5 separate regions of the Homo sapiens genome follow, and all the other regions are linked to region 1. Evidence: promoter capture Hi-C in human tissues and cell types (Jung and others, 2019). All regions are on one chromosome and are shown on one strand. Each heading gives the region's core, a stretch centred on a gene start or on the middle of the fragment in contact. The rest is flanking DNA. Distances are from core to core; before and after follow the strand shown.

Region 1 (2,625 bases), core at 88-2,587:
CATGGAGAAATACAGTTGTCCCTCAGTATTCGTGAGTGATTTGTTCCAGGACCCCCATGGATACCAAAACTAGAGGATGCTCAAGTCCCTGATATAAAACGGCTTGTATTTGCATATACGCACATCCTCCTGTATAGTTTGTCTCTAGATTATTTAACATACCTAATACAATGTAAATGCTATGTAAATAGTTGTTATACTGTATTGTTTAGGGAATAATAACCTTAAAAAGTCTGCATTTCGGTACAGACTGATATTTTCCCCCAATATTTTCAATCAGGTTGGTTGAATCCACAAAACCCACTGAATGGAAGAGCCAAGTAGGGTGAGGTGAGGCCTTGGAGGGAGGATATCAAAATAAGTGGCTAGAGAGGAAGGAGGAGCTTGAGGTGGAAGCCGGAATGTGTGGGAACTGGTGCTGTACTTGCTCACCAAGCACCCTGGTTAGAGCTGAAATAACTCTTTTATGCCACAAACTCCTAAGAGACATAGTTGGGACCAGAACTGGCGCCTGCTGACTTCTGGGTAATCCATCCCCGGTTGTGAAGGGACGGCCGTGCCGCCACGACGGCTCCGAAATACACCAAGAGTTTATTTTCGGGGCTGCTCGTAGTCCAGTCATTCTTGGGTTTCCCATTTCCTATCAGCCCCAAGCCACCCACGGATGCTCCCCACCTCCAGACATCGCCCTCCACTAGGTCCCCAGATCACTTTTAAAACGCGACCAGGGGCCGGGCGCGGTGGCTCACGCCTGTAATCCCAGCACTTTGGGAGTCCGAGGCGGGCGGATCACGAGGTCAGGGGTTCGAGACCAGTGAAACCCCGTCTTTACTAAAAATACAAAAAAACTAGCCGGGCGTGGTGGTGTGCAACTGTCATCCCAGCTACTCGGGAGGCTGAAGCAGGAGAATCGCGTGAACCCAGGAGGCGGAGGTTGCAGTGAGCCGAGATCGCGCCATTGCATTGCAGCCCGGGCAACAGTGCAAGACTCCGTCTTAAACAAACAAACAAACAAACAACAGAACGCGACCAGGAGTCCCGGAAGCCTGCGTGCACGAACTCCCAAGACCACAAGTCCCAGCATGCAACGCTCCTTGTTGGAAAAGGGCCTCCCTTAGCCACTAAGTGGACCATCATGCAACATTCTCTGATGGGGCGGGGATCTCCATGGAGGGGGGAGGCACACTTGTTGCGTCGCCTCAGCAACTCCAATTGCGTGACAGAATGTGCTTCCGCTTCCGCCTCTGAGCCCTATGAGCGAGAGTTACGCTACTTAGTCGTTGTGACGCCATTCTTCTGCGACGGCGCGGACCTGGAGCTTCCGCGCGGTGGCTTCACTCTCCTGTAAAACGCTAGAGCGGCGAGTTGTTACCTGCGTCCTCTGACCTGAGAGCGAAGGGGAAAGCGGCGAGATGACTGACCGCTACACCATCCATAGCCAGCTGGAGCACCTGCAGTCCAAGTACATCGGCACGGGCCACGCCGACACCACCAAGTGGGAGTGGCTGGTGAACCAACACCGCGACTCGTACTGCTCCTACATGGGCCACTTCGACCTTCTCAACTACTTCGCCATTGCGGAGAATGAGAGCAAAGCGCGAGTCCGCTTCAACTTGATGGAAAAGATGCTTCAGCCTTGTGGACCGCCAGCCGACAAGCCCGAGGAGAACTGAGACTCTGCCTTACCACCGCAGTGCGGGGCACCTCTCCCAGCGTTTCTCCGGTTTGCCAATCCTCTTAAGTATTCCTGTCTCCAAAGGACCGGCTCTCCATGGCTCCTGCGCCTCGTGCTTTCCGCGTACAGAAGTGCTTGCCCGGGGAGTCCCGCCTGACCTGCCTTCATGTGGACCCTTAGAACAGCACTGGGAGACCAGCAGGACTCCTGAGAACTGTGCTGGTGGAGAGGTCCTAGAGCCGGCGAGCGTTTGAGAAGAGGGCATGGCGCTGGAGTGAGATGGGATTTGGCGTCTCGTTTTTGGCTAATTGATTGTCATTGGCTTTTTCCATAAAGTTTAGAAATCGTTCAGTCTCTTGGTGTGAACTTTCTGTGTTAGGGTGGAAGGCTCCGGAAAGAGCTGAGCGGGAAGTGGGTTTGGGTGAGGGAGCGCATGCCAGTGTCCATGGCCAGGCACTTAGATCCGCCGTGTCTACCTTTATAATTAATTCCCCGACTGCCACTTTTCCCAAGAGCGTTATTTTCAGGCCCACAATGCCTTCAGTATTGAAATTTGTGGTTATTGTATCCCATCTTCTTTTTCTCCTGTTTTAAAACTCTTTGCAGTCTTTGCTGTCATTGTCCTCCCTAGCCTCTTTAAAATGCATCCTTTTTTTTTTCTTGGGAATTTGTGGCCATGTCTCCAGAAATGACAAGCTGGCAAGCGAGTTCATCCATTCTACATTCAACAAATATTTGTTGAGCTCTATGTGACAGGCATTTTCCCGTGTTCTTGGGGCTTACATTATGCTGGTGGTGGAGAAAGGAGGTCAAACACTAGATGTAATAAGCAAATGTTAGAAGATGCTGCGGGGAGGGGAGAACAATGTATGTGGTGCGGGTGGGAGTAGCTGGTAGGGCTGTAATCTTAAATATGATGCACAAGTTACTGAGATGGTGACATTTGAGCA
Region 2 (2,625 bases), core at 38-2,537, 410 kb before region 1:
TTCACATATAATATACTGAATAAACATTACAAAAAAACATTTCATGTAAGTAACTCACAAGAGAGCAGCAAGTCTAAGCTTTGGTCTTACAACTGTCATAAGTGCAAAGATAATACTCTGGATGGTATGATGATAAAGTGATCGGCACATTCGTAAGTTTCACCAGGCAAAGTATATAGTCACAGAATTATAGAGAGAGCATGAGTTCCACAATTAAAACTACAAAGCTCTTTCAATCAAAAAGCAATATGCATGTATCTACCCTACTGCTACTATTATTGACCATTTTTTAAATCAACATTTAAACCAATCATTTTAAGGAGCTCAAGTTTATATTTCTACATTAAATCACACCTTGGAAAGCATACCAATTACAAATTCACAAATGAGTCCAGGTTTAAACACTCACTTGGCCATGTCAATTACTGGCATATTTATGACAGAACTGAAATACTACTTTCCAATATTATTCTCTAGCAAGGGGGGAGAAAATAAAGGATACCCAATAGCTATGCTCTCAGCAATTATTAATAAGAATCTTTCATTTCTTCAGTGGGCATGTACTGATTGACTAGAATAGCATTTAAGAACTATAAAAAATAATGAACTACAAGTAATTACATCTAAATAGTACACATACTTTTTTACAGTAAAAAAGATTACATTGAAAATAGTTATATTTAAGTTATGGAATAAAAACAGTATTCAGAAATGAAAATATTATTTATTTAAGCTTTGCATTGAAAATAATTTTACATAATCTTTAAGTGCAAATACATTAAAATGTGGTGAAATCTGCATGTTCCTTAAATCTGAAAAGACAGTGATAAAAAGATGGTGGTTATTAATATATACTGATGTTTCATTTGATTTACTCTAATGAAGAGAATGTGCTGTGAATTTGTGACTTGTATATATCATCTTTATCATTTCAATTCTGAAATAAGATTAAATGGAAACTTAAGAGCATATTGTTCCAAAAGAAACAAATTTTTCATTGCTTTGAGTCTTTACCTAAAAAAGCTATGAGAATCAGCTGAAAAACAAATTGAATTTATGAGTATATGAACATGGATGTTTAAAAATTGAATATATAAAATCAATATCACCTATGTACCAACAATAAGCACTCTGTAAAAAAACCGAAAAGTATATTTTTACATAGCAATAAAAATAGATATGTAGGAATAAACTCCTGTGCATATATGAATAATGTTTATAAAGAAAAAAATCAAAACATTATGTAGGAATGTGAAAGAATTTAGGACAAAAATGAGACATATATGTTACCGAATAGAATTAATATAACAAAGATATCAATTCTGCACTACACAAATGTATGAATTCAAGGCAATTCAAATCAAAATTTCCAATAGAATTTAAGAATTTAACAATAAAAATTCTAAAGTTCATATAAGATATATACCAAAAATGAAGCATAAAGAGAGGGAACCCATTAACTGCAGTTAAAATATACTATAAAACATGGCTAAACATTCTAAAAACTGGTACATTTCATGGGGCCAGATCAGTGGAGCAGAAAACAACGAAAGGCAACAGGAAAATAAGAATATATGAACTTAGCATGTCAAATCCATGGGGACAAGGTTAATTACTCAACCAATAGCACTAAGATAATTGGTTATCCTTTTGGAAAGAAGGTTAGAGCCTTACCTCACGAAATACACCAAAATAAATACTGGAAAGATTAATGCATTAAAGGTAAAAAGATGAAACTATAAAAGAGCTAGCAGAGGAGGTGGCTGGCAAGATGGCCAAACAGGAACAGCTCCAGTCTGCAGCTCCCAGCAAGACCAAAACAGAATGCAGGTGATTTCTGCATTTCCAACAGAGGTACTTGGTTCATCTCACTGGAACTGGTTAGACAGTGGGTGCAGCCCACGGAGGGTGTCGCTTCACCAGGGAAGCGCAAGAGGTTGGGGAACTCCCTCCCCTAGCCAAGGGAAGCCATGAGGGACTGTGCCGTGAGGTACGGTGCTATCCAGCCAAGATACTACACTTTTCTCAAGGCCTTCACAACCTACAGACCCGGAGATTCCCTCAGGTGCCTACATCACCAGGGCCCTGGGTTTCAAGCACTAAACTGGGCAGCCGATTGGGGAGACACCAAGCTAGCTGCAGGAGTTGTTTGTTTGTTTTTTTTCACACCCCAGTGGTGCCTGGAACACCAGCAAGACAGAACCATTCACTCCCCTGGAAAGGGGACTGAAGCCAGGGAGCCAAGTGGTCTAGCTCAGCAGATCCCATCCCCATGGAGCCCGGCAAGCTAAGATCCAACGGCTGGAAATTCTCGCTGCCAGGACAGCAGTCTGAAGTCGACCTGGAATGCTGGAGCTTGGTGGTGAGAGGGGCATCCACCATTACTGAGGCTTGAGTAGGCAGTTTTCCCCTCACAGTGTAAACAAAGCCTCCAGGAAGTTCAAACTGGGCAGAACCCACCACAGCTCAGAAAAGCAACTGTAGCCAGACTGTCTGATCTCTGAAAGAAGGGTGGCAGCCCCAGCAAGGGGCTTATAGAGAAAACTCCCATCTGCCTGGGACAGAGCACCTGGGGGAAAGGGCAGCTGTGAGCAAAGCTTCAGCAGACTTAAATGTTCCTGCCTG
Region 3 (2,625 bases), core at 90-2,589, 360 kb before region 1:
ATAACGATTCAGGCACATCAGTAGAACTTCAGCCACTGCCTTTTCTAGATAATATATGTTTCCATCCATGCCATGCTTCTACTCTGCTAGTTTATCACCTGAACCAGTGAAATAAGATCAACTACCTTGATCTGTCTAGGCCCGACTTCAGAAAGAAGACCCTTTGTCCTAAGAAAAAAAGAAAGCTGGCTAGAAAAACTAGGAGGCAGCTCAGGTCTTGGTGACCAAAGCACAGTGTCATATAAATTAAAAAATGAATGGCGAGGATGCCTTATGCTGGGAAGCAACCTGGTGAGTGCAGGAATATTAAGCCAGCAGCCAGGCTCTAGAAGCATCAGCAAGCCCACTGGAGACCTTGCACATAAATAAGCAAATACCAAAAGACTGAGGCAGCAATAAGATGATCTACTTTAGAAACACATCAGGGAAAACAATGCCACCATTTTTATTACTGAAATCTTATCATTTTATTTGTCCGATATTTTTGAAAAGTAGAGAATGTTCCTAAAAATAATAAAGTCATATATAATAATAGGTTTTATCATAGTCCTTCCCTTAATCTAAAATACCTTCAAATCCTCTAAAATGACTATGAAAAAGTATGGGAAATCTTCAAAGGAATCTTTCTATTCGGAGGAAAACATGCATACCAAAAGGATGGCTTCACATTTTTATTGAGTAGGAAAGCAATAAAACAATCCTGCTTTATAAACATATATGATCAAAATCCAGGATAATGAGAGCTTGAACTAAAAAACAAAGGCATAAAAACAAAAAGTCATGTATGATCCACAGACAATGCAACTTTGAAAATTTTTATAATACACTGTGTCTACTGAAAATCATAAATGAGGGCATATCATGCTGTCATTTGAATGTGTCACCTATGTCAATTGCAGAAGTTCACTGTTCACCACCATCTCTCAGGTAAGAGAATATGAGACATAAGCAAAGCATTCACACCACAAGCCATGCTGCATTACCCCTGTTAATGGGGAGAGTATACAAAACAAATCACCATTTTCCTAACAATATGAACAATGGAGATATGGGTCATGCCCCTGCCCCATCATTTCTATTCTAGGCAGGCAAAGGAATAGTAACACCAGCCACATCATCTTTATGTTGGACAATTCATACTAATCAAGGAAGAAAATTAAGTAGGTAAATAAAATTTCTGAGATGGAAAATTACCACTACTCATCTAGAAAACTGGAAAGAGGTGCTCACTTCAAGAACAAGGGCGGTTAAAACAACTTCAGTTATTTTTTCACTGACAATGTCTTACAAGCCATTCATTTTGCCTCTTTAAACCAATTTTAAACATCTGAATCTCCCTTTCTCTAATCCTGAGATATTGCTGGTTACAGTGATGCCCGGTAATGATTCAAACACAATTTACATCTTATAAAAGGAAAACTGCACATTGTCTTTAAAAATAGTTGTTTTACTCCCAGAGATCCAGAGTTTAAAATTTTCTATTTCTATAAAACACAGAGTTCTTAGAAGGTGACTAGTCAAAAGGCAAAATCAACAGAAGATCACTTTATTAATTGTCTAAAAGGGAGAACATAGAACACATTCCTGCCACTCAGTCTCACTTGACTTTACACTTCTCAGTCTATCACTATTGGAATCAAGGGAAACGTTTACAAAACATAGGACCTTCACCAAACTTCCTGGGCTTATATGCTTAGGCAACCACAATGGGCATTGATTCATAAAGCCACATTATCCAGATGCCCAACTACTCTACTGTATTTTACTAGATGAAGAGCTCTAGGAACAAGATAAGCTAAACGAAGAAAACCAAGTATATCAGCTATGAAAGTCAAATGAAACACACTATTTTATTTATTATTATTATTATTATTATTATTATTATTATTATTATTATTTTGAGACAGAGTCTTGCTCTGTCACCAGGCTGGAGTGTAGTGGTGCAATCTCAGCTCACTGCAACCTCCGACTCCCTGGTTCAAGCGATTCTCCTGCCTCAGCCTCCTGAGTAACTGAGATTACAGGCATGTGCCACCATGCCCAGCTAATTTTTGTATTTTTAGTAGAGACGAGGTTTCACCATGTTGCCCAGGATGGTGTTGATCTCCTGACCTCGTGACCCACCCACCTCGGCCTCCCAAAGTTCTGGGATTACAGGTGTGAGCCACTGCGCCCAGCCTCACGCTATTTTATTTTCTAAAATTGTTTCTATGCTCTATGAGATACCTCAAAACTTATGTAAAATGCATTAGGCAGGAAAGACCTATCAGAATTGGCTATGGTGGGCTTTTTGATGGAACTGGTTTCAGAAAAACAGTGACGTGATTATTCAAATATGGGTTTTACTGAAGAATTTGACATGCCTCCCTAACTGAACTGGAACACACAGACTTTATCCAGTTCAGCTCCCCCATTTCTCAGCTTCCCACTGTTGTCCTAAAAAAAATTTTTTAATAGATGCATCTTTAAAACAAAAAAGAATTAGGGTCCTCTAATGAATGCATTTCTAATTCCACCAATGCTTGAAAAAACATGATAATACAAACTATAAAAGGTTTCCTATGAAATTGGGCAAGTATACATTAGGTGACAAAAGCCCCATGTCAACTATTCTCCAGTGTTGCC
Region 4 (2,625 bases), core at 55-2,554, 340 kb before region 1:
TAAACTTTTATTTTGTCCTAAATGGAGTTCATTAAATGCAGACAAAGAATGCAAAAAGCAGCACCCTGTATTCATATCAGAATCATTGTTTCTTCAATCAGGAATTCCTGCTTATTAAATAGGTGGAAGTGGCAATGAATGCAGTTTGCTCCTTAAGACACAATACATGAAATAAAATAAACCATGAGAAAGCTTTAAAATAAAAGTCACAAAATGGAAAAGTAGATCAATACTCCATAGTCCTGTCTTCACACCAAGTTAATGTTTAGCTAATCTTAACATTGCAAATAAGTAACTGCCCCTATGAAATGTCTTTTCCTTTTTTTGGAGACAGTCTCACTTTGTTACCCAGGCTGGAGTGCAGTGGCTGAATCTCAGCTCACTGCAATCTCTGTCTCCTGAGTTCAAGCGATCCTCATACCTCAACCTCCCAAGTAGCTAGGATTACAGGCATGGCCCACCATGCCCAGCTAATTTTTGTATTTTTAGTAGAGACGGAGTTTCGCCATGTCGCCCAGGCTGGTCTCAAACTCCTGGCCTCAAGTGATCCATCCGCGTTGGCCTCCCAAGTGCTGGGATTACAGGCATGAGCCACCATGCCTATCCTCTTTTTCCTTTTTGTTAAATTCTGTATTCCAACTTTTATCTTTTGGTGTGGCTAACACATCAAAGGGGAAACAAAGATCATGCAGAATTCCAGCAATATTACCCGTAGAAAAGAGTCTTACTTTTCCAAGGCAAGTTCTGTAATCATCTCGCTTTCACAGACATGCAGACATCTACTAGAGCTCAACTGTGCAAAGCAGCCTGTGGAATTAAGTGCATTTCTTGGCTTTCCACTCACCGGGACTGTCTGTCCATACTCTCCACCCTAAGAGCCTCCCATCTAGCATTCAGCAGGGTCATCTGTTCCTGAATCTCAAATTCTTCTTCGTCTGACAGAGTTCCTTGTGTTATCAGTTGGTTGCCTGCCTGCAGGACGCTGCCCACACTGCTCTGGTGTGCAGTCAGTTCCATCATAAAAGCCTAGAAAGGGACATTGTTATAATTTGTGAGCTACTCAGTGCAAAAAAAAAAAAGGAAGACTGAACAAATTGCTAATGCCTAACCTAAATGTCAGTGATGCAGAAAAAGGTAGCCTAGTAGAGCGCAAATAAAATAGACATTGACCACATTTTTTAATCTCTGAAAATAGGAATAAACACCTGCCATAAGTTAAAAGAGAAATAGCTCAAAGCAAGCAATGATGCATCTGATAATACCAGCTATTTTAAAGTAAATGCTGACTATGCTACTCATAGATCATGAACATGGAATTCTAAATAAATAAAATAAAAGGCTGGGTGTGGTGGCTCACACCTATAATCCCAGCATTTTGGGAGGCTGAGGCAGGTGGATCACCTAGGCCAGGAGTTCAAGACCAGCCTGGACAACAAGGTGAAACCCCGTCTCTAACTAAAAACACAAAAAATTAGCCGGGCGTGGTGGCACATGTTTGCAGTCCCAGCTACTTGGGAGGCTGATGCAGGAGAATCACTTGAAGCCAGGAGGTAGAAGTTGCAGTGAGCCAAGATTGTGCCACTGCACTCCAGCCTGGGTGACAGAGTAAGACTCTGTTAAAAAAAAAAAAATTATAAATATATATATATACACACACATATACATATACATATATAATATATAAATAGATTATATATAAAAATATTTATATATTTTATTTATATATATTTATTTATATATTTTATTTATATATAAAATAAAATATATATTTATTTTTATTTATATATATTTATATATAAATATATATTTATTTATTATATATATAAATATATATATAAAATAAAATACCATACTCACCCAAGAGGAACTGTTTAAGAGATATTACCACTTATATTATTTTCTATCCAAAACAACAAATAAGATCTGTCAATTCACATAACTATACAAAAGAAAAATTTAACCAAAAGAAATCTCCATATAGTGAAATTCACTATGCTGCAATATAGTATGTCCTCAAAGGAGCAGGAAACTTTTATGATATGAAAAAATACAGGAACCCTGGGTATGACATTTGCTTAATCATGCAATTAAAAAGAATAATCATTTCCTAGGGAACACTCAAATCTTAAAGATTTGGTGTATTGGTTCACTCGTTTGCTTTTGAAATATAACAATGCACTTCAGAACTGAGCAGTACTATGCAATGATTTTCATCAGTGGCTCTCCAAAACACACAAGGAGACTAAAATCTAAAATCTAATTCTGAGGCACAGTTTAATCACCCATACCAATTTTGTGACAAAGCACTATTTAAATATCACAGTTCCTGAAATAAACCATTGACCTTTCCAAAGAACAGAATTCAGTAGATAACAAATAGGAGAGTAGAGTCCCTGATTAAGGCTCAGGTCCCGTGGGGGACACACCCTGCTAAGAAACTACAGATATTTACTTCATGGGTTGCAAACTGGTCTTTGACTTCTTCAACATCATCAGAAATATCATCCTGCTCCTGGAAAGTGTCCTCAGCAGAAAGCAACCAGGTCAGCACTTCCTCCAACGCAATCTGATAGCTGTCCAGATCCATGTCAACCTCAGTGACAGTGCTGGGAGTTTCAGCTCGGG
Region 5 (2,625 bases), core at 62-2,561, 270 kb before region 1:
TATGCTACAGGGCTAAATGCCTACCTAGCATGGTATTCAGCATGCTTTTTATAGCTACCCCCTATTAATTCTGTGCCCTCTACCTGGAACATTTTCCTCCAGCCCCAACATTGCCATCAGTATCCACAGCAAATGGTACCCCCTTTCATGAAGGCTTTAGATGGTTTCTCTCCCAGCTCTAAACCCATCCCACCCTCACCTTTTGAATTCATATGGTACTTTGTTCCTTATCTATAACAAAATATTGTATATATACACGCCTATATGATCTCTCCCTTTTTTGTTTTGTTTTCTTGTTTGTTTTAGACAGGGAAAGACTGTAATGTGAGTTGAGTGAGTTTGTATCTCTGCCCATCTGCAGGTTTGCTACTGCACAAATTCCTACCAACTGAGTTGGGACCTAGACGCTGTCTTGAGAGGGAAGATGTAAGGCCCAGGTGGAAAATAAACAAATAGTAATAATGCTACAAAGAAACAGGTCCGACCAGGCCAAGTCAGTCCTCAACCATCTTACACCTCACCAGTTCTGGAAAACCAAGCTCTCTGTGCGTCAATTTCAAAATGATTTTAAAGTTGTGTTAGGTCGCTATACCAATGGACATATGTATAGAAATATTTCAGTGCTTCTCGAAGTGAGAAAATTAAAGATGGACAGACTCTTTCCTAACATCTGACTCAAAAGCCTAGAAAACACATAGAAAAGAAGCAAATAATACAGTTCTGTAAGATACTGTGTTTTGTGTGCCATGGTTTCTCTATTTTTAGATTTAAATACTATTGTGTGTCCATCAATTATTATGTATAACCATTAAAAAATCTTTTAAAAACATAAAATTAAAAGTGCTATGTACTGAGAAACTTATTCAAAATCATATTTCAAATAGCAAACCATACCCAAAAAATTAAAAATATTTTTTTAAAAAATAGCAAACCCACATAATACAAAACCTAAGAGAAACTGAGCACTTAACAAAATAAGCATAAATATAACACATTACTTAGCATAAAAACTCATTCTAAATGACCTGGCACACAGTAGGTCCTCAATACACCTTTGTTTTAAAGTCCTGACTCAGTGCAAACTCATCAGCCTCATAGGTCAGATGTTGTAAGGACCCAAGATATTGCATCGCGTGGAAATCAACTTTCACATCACATAACAAGTGGCATGTCATTTTTTTCCTTCTCTACCGTATTTCTAAAACTATTCAGGTGTTGATGCAGACCTTTTTCCATGTCTTGGCAAAGTGTAATTTGAACAGGCAGTTTCTCATGACCTTCAAGTCTGTGTTCAACAATGAAATCATTTGGCTTTATATCCCATCCAGTTATTAATCACAAACAACAAAAGAAGAACTTTCACACAGAAAATGTGAAACCTATGCTGGCCAGCACTCACTCTGGGTCACTCCAGGTCACATTCACTTGTAGCTAAGTTCACTGAAGACCATGCAATGACCTCAGCTATTTAGAAAATACATTCAAAATTTTTCTGGAGAGGAAAAATACAGCTATGTGACTTTAAGACAAGTGCTCCTGGAGGTCAGCAGTCTGAAAAGGGTACAATGAACAACATGGCTGGGTCCTGGGCAGATGGGGGGTGGTGTGCACAGGTCACTGGGTGCCACCGGATGGGCGGGCACATCACCTATCCTCCCTCAGTTGGCTCCTTCACTAAGTGCCTGAGCAGGAAATTTCTACCCTGGCATGGAATGCCCACACCAGGATCTCAGCATTCCCACCCCACCCATGTAGGAAGGAATCCAGCTATTCTAGCAGGATTTAACTTTATATAAATCAGCTCCAATGAGTTGATATGTTTAATAACAAAGCAAACATTCACAACTCTATTTTACTCCTTTTTTTGTTGTTGTTGCCATTATTATGATTACTATGATGAATTTGGCTTTGATTTTTATTCTTTTAAGTAAGAAAGTGGCAGCAAAAAGGAAAAAAAAATTCCAGGAATTGACTTGTGTCTCTCTAATGAAACAGGCAGTTCTGGCTGGGTGAGGTGTCTCACATCTGTAATCTCAGCACTTTTAGGAGACCAAAGTAGGAGGATCACTTAAGCCCAGGAGTTCAAGACCAGCCTGGGCAACATAGCGAGACCCCATCTCTACAAAAAAAAAAAAAAGAAAGAAAGAAAGAAAATTAGCCAGGTGTGGTTTCAGACACCTGTGGTCCCAGCTACTTGGGAAACTGAGGAGGGAGGATCACTTGAACCCAGAAGGTTGAGGCTGCATGAGCCATGGTCATGCCATTGCACTCCAGCCTGGGTAACAGAGTGAGACACTGTCTCTAAAAAAGATAAATAAATAAATAATTTTTTTTTAAAGAACAAGGGACTTATTTCCTTATCAGCCCCGCAATGCCCCTTTTAGCATCCAGAAATAGATCCACCTGGTCTTCCCTGGAAGATTCTGGACTTCCCTGGAAGACTCCTGGATGGTTTTAACTCAAACATAGCCCTCTGGATTAAGCTCACAATTGAAACTAATATTTCCCTGCCTGCCAAGCTAAAATTTTTCCCTGGAGCATTAATAATTAGCTCAAAATCAAGGACAAAATTAGTAGAGCAACACATAAGGTGTTTCTCCCCCTTCCTAACATCAGCCAGTCTTT

The links. The method cuts DNA at HindIII sites, captures the fragments that hold promoters and counts their contacts. A contact is called where the count stands out against the background at its distance.
Region 2: a contact is called between a fragment that was not itself captured here and the fragment with the promoter of SF3B5 in region 1, in 2 of the 25 tissues and cell types used here (mesenchymal stem cells and spleen).
Region 3: a fragment that was not itself captured here is called in contact with the fragment with the promoter of SF3B5 in region 1 in 1 of the 25 tissues and cell types used here (spleen).
Region 4: a fragment that was not itself captured here is called in contact with the fragment with the promoter of SF3B5 in region 1 in 2 of the 25 tissues and cell types used here (H1 embryonic stem cells and aorta).
Region 5: a fragment that was not itself captured here is called in contact with the fragment with the promoter of SF3B5 in region 1 in 1 of the 25 tissues and cell types used here (heart right ventricle).

What each region holds. Positions count from the first base shown.
Region 1 is chr6:144,094,285-144,096,909 of GRCh38, reverse strand. SF3B5 (splicing factor 3b subunit 5) reads left to right here and starts at 1,337. Exons shown (of 1, transcript NM_031287.3): 1 at 1,337-2,026. The coding sequence starts at 1,413. The coding sequence ends at 1,673. RefSeq lists an enhancer at 888-1,587. The HindIII fragment of the contact is 26,090 bases long and covers 1-2,625 here.
Region 2 is chr6:144,507,826-144,510,450 of GRCh38, reverse strand. All of the region lies in intron 34 of UTRN (utrophin), which reads right to left. Among named protein-coding and RNA genes, the nearest start is that of SNORA98, 100 kb to the right of the region's middle. The HindIII fragment of the contact is 4,170 bases long and covers 1-2,625 here.
Region 3 is chr6:144,455,927-144,458,551 of GRCh38, reverse strand. The region is part of intron 19 of UTRN (utrophin); the gene reads right to left. Among named protein-coding and RNA genes, the nearest start is that of SNORA98, 52 kb to the right of the region's middle. The HindIII fragment of the contact is 6,411 bases long and covers 1-2,625 here.
Region 4 is chr6:144,435,966-144,438,590 of GRCh38, reverse strand. It overlaps UTRN (utrophin), which reads right to left. Exons shown (of 75, transcript NM_007124.3): 10 at 2,453-2,625; 11 at 845-1,026. Among named protein-coding and RNA genes, the nearest start is that of SNORA98, 32 kb to the right of the region's middle. The HindIII fragment of the contact is 5,247 bases long and covers 1-2,625 here.
Region 5 is chr6:144,361,285-144,363,909 of GRCh38, reverse strand. The region is part of intron 2 of UTRN (utrophin); the gene reads right to left. Among named protein-coding and RNA genes, the nearest start is that of SNORA98, 43 kb to the left of the region's middle. The HindIII fragment of the contact is 8,226 bases long and covers 1-2,625 here.